Regions from separate parts of the Homo sapiens genome. Here region 2 is linked to region 1. The links are contacts of gene promoters, found by promoter capture Hi-C in blood cells and fetal thymus (Javierre and others, 2016). All regions are on one chromosome and are shown on one strand. The core of a region is centred on a gene start or on the middle of the fragment in contact, and the rest is flanking DNA. Distances in the headings are between cores, read along the strand shown. Region 1 holds the start of WIPI1 (WD repeat domain, phosphoinositide interacting 1). Region 2 has its middle 37 kb from the start of AMZ2.

What was found. The method cuts DNA at HindIII sites, captures the fragments that hold promoters and counts their contacts. A CHiCAGO score of 5 or more calls a contact.
Region 2: a contact is called between a fragment that was not itself captured here and the fragment with the promoter of WIPI1 in region 1, in 11 of 17 cell types (naive CD4 T cells, naive CD8 T cells, total CD4 T cells and 8 more). The highest score is 12.7, in naive CD4 T cells.

What each region holds. Positions count from the first base shown.
Region 1 is chr17:68,452,737-68,458,791 of GRCh38, reverse strand. WIPI1 (WD repeat domain, phosphoinositide interacting 1) reads left to right here and starts at 1,296. Exons shown (of 13, transcript NM_017983.7): 1 at 1,296-1,450; 2 at 5,800-5,882. The coding sequence starts at 1,371. It also overlaps a transcript of PRKAR1A not described here. RefSeq lists silencers at 854-1,140, 877-1,556. The HindIII fragment of the contact is 11,803 bases long and covers 1-6,055 here.
Region 2 is chr17:68,207,822-68,213,541 of GRCh38, reverse strand. It overlaps a transcript of AMZ2 not described here. Among named protein-coding and RNA genes, the nearest start is that of AMZ2, 37 kb to the left of the region's middle. The HindIII fragment of the contact is 4,383 bases long and covers 520-4,902 here.

The sequences.
Region 1 (6,055 bases), core at 47-2,546:
TTTGAAAAAATGAATTAAAAATCCATCAGCAGTTATACAATCCAAAGCTGGCAGAGCTCCTGCTTCATAAACCGTATTGACAGTAATTCCGCATGGGAACATGTACAGTACTCAGCTTTTAAAAAGAGATTCTTTGTTAAGGTTTATCTCGAATTACGTGAGTTTTGAATTGTGCTATATCTTCAAGACGTTACCCCTTTCATAAACTACACTGCCCTACACACACTTTCATTTTTTTCAGCTGCGGATCGGATAGGTCTTGTTTAGATACTTTGTGCCATTTTTGTAACTTTTCAGATCAAAGGTGCTTCCCCCCACCTTCCAGCTCCGTCAAATGCTGCAGTCATTTCTGTCCTGGTTAGAAAACCTAGAATCTCGCATGCTAGGTGCTACGTTGTTTTTGCAAATTACTGTTTAGCAGTTATTTAGTGCACAGGTCTTGAAAGCAGACATGCAGACATTCTACCATTTACTGTTACTTTAGACAAATTGTTTAGCTTTGGAGCTTCAGTTGCCTCTTCTGTATATTGAGCACAATCGTATTTTCCACACAAGTTTTATAAGAATTCAAGATGACATACATAGTACGGCGCGCTTGGCAAGTAGTGAGGGTTCTCAACCGCTCGGCAATGGATAAGATAACTTGCTATCTCTCTGGCTGAGGCAGCCCCATTTCAGGAGCTTCTCTCAATGCGGCTTGAGGACTCGACAAAAGGGTGGGGCTTTGGAGTCTAACGCTCTCTGCTAAACTCTGTAAGTTTAATAGGCAGAGTTACACATGGCAAGGGGTCTGGGCGGGGTGGGAACTAGCGCGTCCTCCTGTCACCCTTGCGGCGGCCCCGACGCAGTTGCCGGACTGAAACCAGCAGATCTGGCCCCAGCCGCATTCCTTCTTCCCTCTCCCTCCCAGCTGGGCGGCTCCGGCAATGAAAACACCGCCACGTGGGCCTGCTGCCTTTGCGTCACGCGCCTTTGTCCAATGGAGAGCCGCGTTACGAAGCCAGGGGCGGGTCGCCAGCCGGGCGGGTCCGCCCACAGCTGCCACGGATTGGCCAAGGGGGGCGGTGCCCGCCAGCCGTGGCTTGGGCTCGTGGCCAATGGTGGCCGGAGGCAGGGGCCCCGCCCTATCAGGTGCTCTGGTCCTCGGGACCAGCTGGAGGGGCGAGAAGGGGCGGGGCGAAGCCGGGGACGCGGCGGGGACGGGGCGGGGTAGGGGCGGGGTGGGGACGGGGCGGGGTAGGGGCGGGGTGGGGACGGGGCGGGGTAGGGGCGGGGCAGGACCGGCGACCCGGCCCGTGGAGCCGGCGCGGGCGGGCTGCTGAGGTGGCTGTCGCCGGCTCCGAGCTGCGGCTTCCCGGGCCGAGCCCCCGATGGAGGCCGAGGCCGCGGACGCTCCCCCGGGCGGGGTTGAGTCGGCGCTCAGCTGCTTCTCTTTCAACCAGGACTGCACGTAAGCTGCGACTCGGCCCCTGCCAGGGAGGTGGGGGACAGAGTGTCAGGACCCAGGGGTGTCGTCCTGAGAGCAGCTTGTGGCTTCCGCCTCGAGGCGGCCTCGGCGGGAGGGCCGGTGTCTGCTTCGGACGCATTGGGATCTTGTTATCCCCGTACCCCTTCAGTGGGGTTTGCCGCACCCCCCACCCCACCCCACTCCCAGTGTCCTCCCAGAGCGACAAGGTTGGGCCAAGGGTGAAAGCAGGGAGTTCGCAAAGGGAGTGGTGGGGCTGCGGGGGCCACGGAATATGGGGGGAGCAGGGCGGTGGGAAAGCCAGTGACCAAAGTGGGTGTCTGGGGAAGAGAGACAGTGGCCAAAAGAAAGAGATGAGAAAGGAGAGGAAGTTGCAAGTTGACCCAGGACTCTGTAGTTGGGGCCCAGGAAGATGAGAGTACAGGAAAAACTTTCCCATTTGTCCTTGAGCATCTCAACGTGGCATCTGGGCAGGGCCTCGGACAAAGAGGCAGCCTATCCCTGCGGCCAGGCCAGCCCCTGTCCCATCCCCGACGCAGGGCATCGTGCCTGCCCGCTCTGGATGGAAGAAACCTTTGGATTTCTTTGGCTGTTTTCACATCGCCCACCCAGCCAGGCAGGATCTCCTTCTCGGAGTCCAAGACTCTTTTCCCGGGCGCAGACTGCTTTCTCTCCAGGAAACAGGAGCTCCACCCTGTTGTTTTTGAGTGGATTTTTAATGTTTTACTTCGATGTTCACATTTGGGCTTTGAGAGGGAGCTGGGCTGAAGTGTGTTTCAGGCATCTGCAGGATTCTGTGACTTACAGGCAAACGCCTGTTTCTTTCCCTATTTTCATGGAAGCGAGCCCTGGGGACCATATGGAATCATCTTTTTGGAATGTGCACCCTGAGCATCAGGCGGGGATGACCGATTCCCAGTTTCCCACTTCCTGCTGTACCAGTTTCTGTGCCTTGGCTGCTGGTGACTGAGCTACGCTAATATTGATCCTTCAGTGGTGTAATTAAGGCCATTATGTACCATTAGCCACCCTGGCTTCCATTCCCTTTATGTTTCTGTTTAAAAACACCCGGTGCTGAACAATATGCCTTTGTTTGAAAAACCCATATGTGTAATCATGTAATCGAGTAGCTCTACAGCTTGGTTATTTGAGTGACTTTCAAGTTTTTCTTGACCACAATCCACAATACGAAATATGTATTGCAACATCACCCAATACCCATAACACATACACTATTCACAAAATATCATGTGCAATTTTCTGTGTCCTTTTTTTCTAAGCTGCTTGTGACTCACTGAATTGCGTTTTAGGATCCACTCATGAGTTGAGACCTGCAGTTTATAAAAATGCTGGTATAGATAAAATCCTGATGTTCTGTAAGAAACATTTTGCAAGAGGGCATGGCTGTTGAAATGCCTGGGTGATGTTTTCCTTCCCAATTGAACACAAGTTAAGAAAGGGGGTTAGTTTGCTTGTAAGTAGTAAATGTTCTAAATTCTGCTTTGTAACATCATTAGATTTGACAAAAAAGGGTGTTAATTTATACTCTAGCCATTAAATAACGCAAAGTCCCAGCTTTCTACAGAAATTGAATAAGAATGTTATTTTCAAAACGGTAGGGTGCTTTGAAAGTTAATTTCCTTACTCCCTACTGTTAGTTTTATTTTCTTGGATGGAAGCTCTGCTGGGCAGCTTTGCCTTGCCTATAAATAAAAGTTCTTGTCACAGTCAGTTGCTTTGAGCCACAGAGGGTATGACATTGGATTTTAAAATAAGTCAAGCCCCTTACTGAATACATTTAGGTGTATTGCCATGTCTTTTTCTATAAATGTAGGCTGAATTTGGGATCCAGTATTTCCAAAGAAGGTAGGTGAAAACAGCAAACCCTTACCAGTCCCCTACGCTCATACTTCGTGATTGGTACTTGTGCTATACACTTTGGGTACTTTTTTTTTTTTTTTTTTTGAGACAGTCTTGCTCTGTCACCCAGGCTGGAGTGCAGTGGTGTGGTCTTGGCTCAGTGCAGCCTCTGCCTCCCAGGGTTCAAGCGATTCTCCTGTCTCAGCCTCTCAAGTAGCTAGGATTACAAACGTGTACCACCACACTCAGCTAATTTTTTGTATTTTTAGTAGAGACGGGGTTTTGCCACATTGCCCAGCTTGGTCTTGAACTCCTGACCTCAAGTGATCCACCCACCTCAGCCTCCCAAAATGCTGGGATTACAGATGTGACACACTATGCCCAGCCTACTTTGGGTACATTTTAAATTTGATTAATGATAAATATTTGTCCCAAGCTCTGTTTCCATGAGTGGTGATTAGAATTTTGTTTCTACAGAAAGACTTTATGGATGAAATAAGGTCTAAGTCTAAATTCCTTGATTCAGAGTCTTTTGTGGCCATTGATCAATCACGTAAAACATCACATAAAACATCACTCTGTGATTTTCTCATATGTAGAATTCTTCTGGTCCAGGAGCAGGGCTTATGTTTGAAAATTACTTTAAATTGCTGTCACTTTGCATTAATGTTATAAGACTCTAGTTACAGTATTTCTTTCCTTACTTGCAAACTTTACAAACCTCATTTCGCAGCCAAACACATCTATATTTATGTGAAAAAGTTTATGTGAAGAAAGTTTAAAAACAATAACACTACAAAATACATTTTGAAGTTTTAAGATGCTCTGGGCTTACTTTTCCAGTTGCTGTTTGTCATCATGAATACCTCAGTCTAGGTACTAAATGCCAGTTCTAAGTGCACAGCTGCAAATGTCTAACCCACCAGTTTAGCTACTTAGCAGGTTGGAGGGCTGCGAGACGTCACCAGCTACCTTGTGGATTAAAAGTTTACTGTAGTTGCCCTATCCCTGTGTCCCAGGGAAGAACAAATGTCTGGGTAGGGAAAAAAAATTCCAGGGAAAATCATGTGACCTTCTCTTTTTTAGGCTAGTGAAACAAGAGCCTTGGCCATCCAGGCTTGTAATAGTAAGTTGCTTATTTTAGTATATGCTTCCCTGTAAAGAGTGAATTTCACCTTGCCTTCCAGAGAAGCACACTTCTGTGAGTGTGCTCCGGGTCAGATTCTGTTCATCACTTAGGTGCGGAGGGCACAGCTGGAAAGAGCTGGGTGAGGATTCCCAGCTGCTGAACAAAGTTGACTTTGATGTTTACTTTCAACACAAGGCCAAGAAAATCTGGATTCACGTCCTGTCTTTATCTCCTCATTGAAAAATGAAAAATTAAGAGAACCAGATTTTTTTTAAGAGGCACTTTGATTGTCCTAGATAAATGTTTAGTTTGTATTTTGTTTGTTGGTTGTGATGATTGCTTTGTAGGATATAGTAGAAAGCAGAGTTCTCCAACTTGGGCTGCTCATTAGAATACTTGAACTTCAAATCCAATTAAACTTCCCAGCTGAGTTTAATATACATCCAGGTGTGAGAGCTACTAGTATGAAGTATCAGGACATTTTTCTGGAAACTGATGAAAGGAAGCATCTATTAAATTTTACCTACTAATGACCTACTATGCCTACTTTGAAAGTGTATTTCTTAGACCAGGCATGGTGGCTGATGCCTAAGCACTTTGGGAGGCCGAGGCAGGTGGATTACTTGAGGCCAGGAGTTCAAGACCAGCCTAGTCAACATGGTGAAACCCTGTCTCTACTAAAAATACAAAAATTAGCCTGGCGTGGTGGTGCATGCCTGTAATCCTCACTGCTCGGGAGGCTGAGGCAGGAGAATTGCTTGAACCCAGGAGGCGGAGGTTGGAGTGAGCTGTGATGGCACCACTGCACTCCAGCCCGGGTGACAGAGCGAGACTCCCTCTCAAAAAAAAAAAAAAAAAGGAAAAGAAAAGCAAAGCATGTTTCTTCTTATAAGCAACAAACAAATAAAGTTATGAAGGAAAGAAAAACTGATTTATCTGGTAAAGTGCCTCTCAGACAACAAGAAGGCCCCCTCGTTGTGTTGGAGGTAGAGCTTTCAGCTATTATGAATATTCTTAAACATTCAATTTTTCCTGTTATCTGCCCAGTGGGAAAAACATGTCTGCTAGATTTGACATTTTGTTGGATGACAGAGCTCATGCAGTTTCATGCCCCTTGATCATTTCACTTTTTTTTTTAAGTTGCCTTTGACTTTTTCTTCTTTTCTTTTGCTCTTCCTGCCTGTCAAGACATGCGTCACCATTTAGGAAGTTACCAAGGATCTAAGCTCCTGCAGATGCTTGTTTACTGTACCCCTGAGGCTAGGGGGCAAAAGGCATCTATTTGCAGACAGATCTGTTGTTAGAATACCTGTCGTTATTCCCATGCTGTCATTATCCTCCACAGATCCCTAGCAACTGGAACTAAAGCCGGGTATAAGCTGTTTTCTCTGAGTTCTGTGGAGCAGCTGGATCAAGTCCACGGAAGCAGTAAGTGTGTGTGAGAGAGACCTCAGGGATCTGCAGGAGAACCAGAGCCTCCTTCTAGGCTTTAATCTGCGGTGCTACCAAGCTGCCTATTTTTCCCTTCCTTAGCCATCAAACTTAGGGAGTCAAGATTTTTAGATTTAAATATAAATCGTTGCCACTACTTGCTTTAAACC
Region 2 (5,720 bases), core at 1,462-3,961, 250 kb after region 1:
AGAATCAGTGTGGATTCAGACCTCTCGACAGCACATTGATAAAGTTTCTACTCTCCTTTCCATTCCCTGCTCTGACACTCATTTCATCCTACCAGATTTTTTCATGTGACCTAATTCTAAGAACTGGAAGAGGGCTTTGAAGACTTCAGAAGCTGAAGACGCAAAGTAGCCCATCCCTCTGCCCAGTTTGTTTTATTCTCCCCATTTTGGTTATTATGATTTTTTAAATCCTTTCATTCTTTTCACTCAGAAAGAGGCAAGTAATTGATTTCCTTATGAAGAGGCCAGGCAGTCCATTTTTCATGGCGTTCAGCGTGCACAGCAAATCTAAAACCATTGTCTGGCAAATGCAGCTTGCAGCCGCAATCATTTTTTTCACCAGGTAAGCCGGCTGGCGTATGTTTTTAAAATTTTATTGTTAAGTATTGTCTTTTACTGGTTAAATCAATGATAACATTCTTTACTTTGTGGTTGTGTTACTCAAAACGAGGATTTTTAACAATGATAAAAAATAAAGCTTGTTAGATCATTTTTAATGGTAATGAATTGGTTCCTGAAGATTTGATTAAAGAGAACTAGGCCAATCTAAGCAGAGTCCAAATGAGGTAGAAAGTCCATAGAGAACAGGAAAAAAGGAAGTTGTGGAACCACAGACACAGTAAAAGGAAAAAATTGGCCAGGTGCGATGGCTCACTCCTGTAATCCCAGCACTTTGGGAGGCTGAGGTCGGTGGATTGCTTGAACCCAGGAGTTTAGGCAACATGACAAAACCCCCATCTCTACAAAAAATACACAAACAAAAGACATTAGCCAGGTGTGGTGGTGTGCACCTGTATAATCCTAGCTACTTGGTAGGCTGAGGTGGGAGTATCGCTTGAACCTAGGAGGTGGAGGTGGCAGTTAGCTGAGATTGAGCCGTTGCACCCCAACCTGGATGACAGGGTGAAAGAGACCCTGAAAAAAGAAAGAAAAGAAAAAAAATTATTTAATTAAATTATTTATTTTTGTGACAAGGTCTCTTTCTGTCTCCCAAGCTGGAGTGCAATGGCATAATCATAGCTCACTGCAGCCTCAAACTCCTGGGCTCAAGGCATCCTCCTGCCTTAGCCTCCCAAAGTGTTGGGATCACAGGCATAAGCCACTTCAAGGGTAGATTTTTTTTTCTTCTTTGAAACAAGATTTGGTTCTGTCACCCAGGCTGGAGTGCAGTGGTATATTCTTGGCTCACTGCAACCTCTGCCTCCTGGGCTCAAGCAATCCTCTTGCCTCAGCTTCTCAAGTAGCTGGAACTACAGGCACGTGCCACCATGCCTAGCTAATTTTTGTATTTTTTGTAGAAAAGGGGGTGTCGATATGTTGCCCAGGCTGGTCTTGAATTACTGGGTTAAAGTGATCCACCCACCTTGGCCTCCCAAAGTGCTGGGATTACAGGTGTGGGTCACCACACCTGGCCAAAAACATGTTAAGTTTTAAAATCAAAAGAAAATCAGCAAGCCATTTTGCATATTTTTCTGGAGATATATAAATACAGATATATATAGATAGAGATAAAGATATACAGATAGATCTGGACTGGAAACCTTATGATAATATAGTATCAGTTGGGTATAACTTAAAAGGACAAAGGGAACTGATTAAAAAAGACTCAAGGCATATATATATACATACACACACATATATACATATACATATATATACATGTACATATATACATATACATACACATACATATATACATATACACATATATACATATACATATATACATATACACATATATACATATACATATATACATATACACATATATACATATACATATATATACATATACATATATACATATATATACATATACATATGTTTTCCCAATTCTTCATACCACTTTTTATTTTTATTGAGATATAATTAATTTATACACCATAAATTCACCCTTTTAAATAAGTGCACAATTTAGTGGGTTTTAGTATAGTATTCACAAGGTTGTAAAACCATCACCACTATTTAATTCCAAAACATTTTTTCTTTTTTTTTTTTTTAAGACGGAATCTTGCTTTGTTGCCCAGGCTGGAGTGCAGTGGTGTAATCTTGGCTCACTGCAATCTCCACCTCCCAGGTTCACACCATTCTCCTGCCTCAGCCTCCCGAGTTGCTGGGACTACAGATGCCCGCCACCACGCCCAGCTAATTTTTTTGCATTTTTAGTAGAAACGGGGTTTCACTGTGTTAGCCAGGATGGTCTCGATCTCCTGACCTCATGATCCTACCGCATCGGCCTCCCAAAGCGCTGGGATTACAGGCGTGAGCCACCGTGCCCGGCCAATTCCAGAACATTTTCATCACCCCAGAAAGAAGCCCCAGAATCACTGGCCCTACTCAACCATTTCCCCTCCCATTTCCTGGCAAGTATTTACTTACTTCCTGTGAATTTGCCCATTTGGGACATTCCATATAAACGAAATCATACAATACGTGATTTCACTAAACAAGATTTTTGTGTGTGGCTTCTTTCAAATAATTTTTGAAAATTGTGGTAAAGTATGCATAACATAAAATTTACACTCTAACCACCTCCCCCCCCCCCTTTTTTTTTGAGACAGGGTCTCACTCTGTCTTTCAGGCTGGAGTGCAATGGTGTAAACACAGCTCAGTGCAGCCTCAACCTCCTTGGGCTCAGGTGATCCTCCTACCTCAGTCTCACAAGTAACTAGGACCACAGGCACACACCACCACACCTGGCTAATTTTTGCATTGTTTGTAGAGACAGGATTTCTCTATGTTGCCCAGGCTGATCTTGAACTCCTGGACTCAAGTGATCCTCCCACCGTGGCCCCCCAAAGTGCTGGAATTACAGGCATGAGCTACCACACCTGGTTGTCTCTAACCATTTTTAAGTGTACAATTCAGTAGAGTTAAGTATATTCACATTGTTGTACAACCAATCTCCAGAACTTTTTCATCTTCCCAAATGGAAACTCGTACCTATTAAGCACTAACTCCCCATTCTCTCCTTCTCCCAGCCTACAGTAATCACCCTTCTACTTTCTGTCTTTACCAATTTGAACACTCTAAGTACCTCATGAGTGGAATCACACAGTATTTGTCCTTTGGTGACTGGCTTATTTCGCTTAGCATAATGCCCTCAAGGGTTCTCCATGTTGTAACATGTCGGAATTTCCTTCCAAGGCTGAATAATGTATCTGTTATATGGATCAATCACATTTGGGTTATCCATTCATCAGTTAATGCACATGTAGGCTGTTTCCACCTTTTGGTCATTGAGAATAATGCTGCTGTATACATATGTGTATACGTTTTTGCATGACCATTTGTTTGCAATTCTTTTTTGACTATATATGTATGAATAGAATTACCGGGTCATATAGTAGCTCTAAGTTTAACTTTTTGAGTAACTGCCAAAGCATTTTCCAGTGTTACATGGTTTTACATTCTCTCTAACAATACATAATGGTTCCAATTTCCCCAAATCCTCCCCAACACTTTTTATTTTTATTTTTTTTAAACATTACAGCCCTGCTAGTGAATGTGAAGTGGTATCTCATTGTGGTTTGGGTTTTAATTTTATAATATTTTAATTTTTAAAATCAAAAGAATATACTGGGGCTGGGGTGGTGGCTCAAGCCTGTAATCCCAGCATTTTGGGGGGCCAAAGGGGGTGGATCACCTGAGTTTATGAGTTCAAGACCAGCCTGGCCAACATGGTGAAACCTCATCTCTACTAAACATACAAAACTTAGCCGGGTATGGTGGCAGGCACCTGTAATCCCAGCTTCTCAGGAGGCTGAAACAGGAGAATCACTTGATCCGGGAGGTGGAGGTTGCCATGAGTCAGAATCACGTCACTGCACTCCAGCCTGAGAGGAGACTCTGTATAAAAAAAAAAAAAAATATATATATATATATATATATACATATACACACACACACACACACACACACCCACAATTATTTTCTTCTATAATATTATTTTACAAAAGAAGTCCATCACTAACACACGCTTGCATGCAAAATACAAGACACATCTAAAGGCCGGGCATAGTGGCTCACGCCTGTAATCCCAACACTTTGGGAGGCAGAGGCAGGCGGATCACTTGAGGTCAGCAATTTGAGACCAGCCTGGCCAACATAGTGAAACCCCATCTCTACTAAAAACACAAAAATTAGCCGGGCATGCTGATGGGCGCCTGTAATCCCAGCTGCTGGGGAGGCTGAGGCAGGAGAATCGCTTAAGCACAGGAGGTGGAGGTTGCAGTGAGCCAAGATCGCGCCATTGCACTCCAGCCTAGGCGACAGAGCAAGACTCCATCAAAAAAAAAAAAAAAAGTACTAAAATTAAGTTGGCAAAAATTTACATGTAGTCCTTTCTACATATAAGACATAAATATCTGACACTGAATTCATTCCTTTTATTCTCCATACAGCCTCCCCGGACAAGTCTGGCAACGATTCTGACCATCCGGCAAAACAAATTACCTTTTTCCAGTTTATGTTAGTGTCCAGCATTGGTGGGTTCCTGGTCTCACTAACTTCAAGAATGAAGCCGCAGACCCTCGCGCTGAGTGTCACAGTTCTTAAAGGCGGCGTGTCCGGAGTTTGTTCCTTCTGGTGCTCGGATGTGTTTGGAGTTTCTTCCTTCTGGTGGGTTCGTGGTCTCGCTGGCTTCAGGAGTGAAGCTGCAGACCTTGACCTTCCAGGTGAGTGTTACCGCTCTTAAGGCGACGTGTCTGGAGTTGTTTGTTCCTCCTGGTTGGTTCGTGGTCTCGCTGGCTTTAGGAGTGAAGCTGCAGACCGTCGCGGTGAGTATTACAGCTCGTAAAGGCAGTGTGGACCCAAAGAGTGAGCAGCAGCAAAATTCACCACAAAGAGCGAAAGAACAAAGCTTCCACAATGTGGAATGGGACCTGAATGGGTTGCCACTGCTGGCTGGGGCAGCCTGCTTTTATTCTTATCAGGCCCCACTCAAAATCCTGCTGATTGGTCCATTTTACAGAGAGCCGAGTGGTCTCTTTTGACAGGGCGCTGACTGGTGCCTTTACAATCCCTGAGCTAAACACAAAGGTTCTCCACCTCCCCACTAGATTAGCTAGATACAGATTGTCGATTGGTGCATTCACAAACCCTGAGCTACACACAGGGTGCTGATTGGTGCATTTATAAACCTTGAGCTAGATACAGAGTGCCGATTGGTGTATTTACAATCCCTTAGATAGACATAAAGGTTCTTCAAGTCCCCCACCAGAGTCAGGAGCCCAGCTGGCTTCACCCAGTGGATCCCGCACTGGGGCCGCAGGTGGAGCTGCCTGCCAGTCCCGCGCCCTGTGCCCGCACTTCTCAGCCCTAGGGTGGTCGATGGGACTGGGCGCCGTGGGGCAGGGGGCGGTGCTCGTCAGGGAGGCTCAGGCCACACAGGAGCCCACGGGGGCAGGGGAGGCTCAGGCATGGCGGGCTGCAGGTCCCAAGTGCTGCCCCGTGGGAAGGCAGCTAAGGCCCTGCGAGAAATTGAGCACAGCAGCTGCTGGCCCAGGTGCTAAGCCTCTCACTGCCCATGGCCGGCGGGGCCTGCCGGCTGCTCCAAGTGCGTGCCCACCGAGCCCACACCCACTGGGAACTCACGCTGGCCCGCAAGCACCGCTCGCAGCCCCGGTTCCCGCCTGCGCCTCTCCCTCCACACCTCCCCCGCAAGCTGAGGGAGCCGGCTC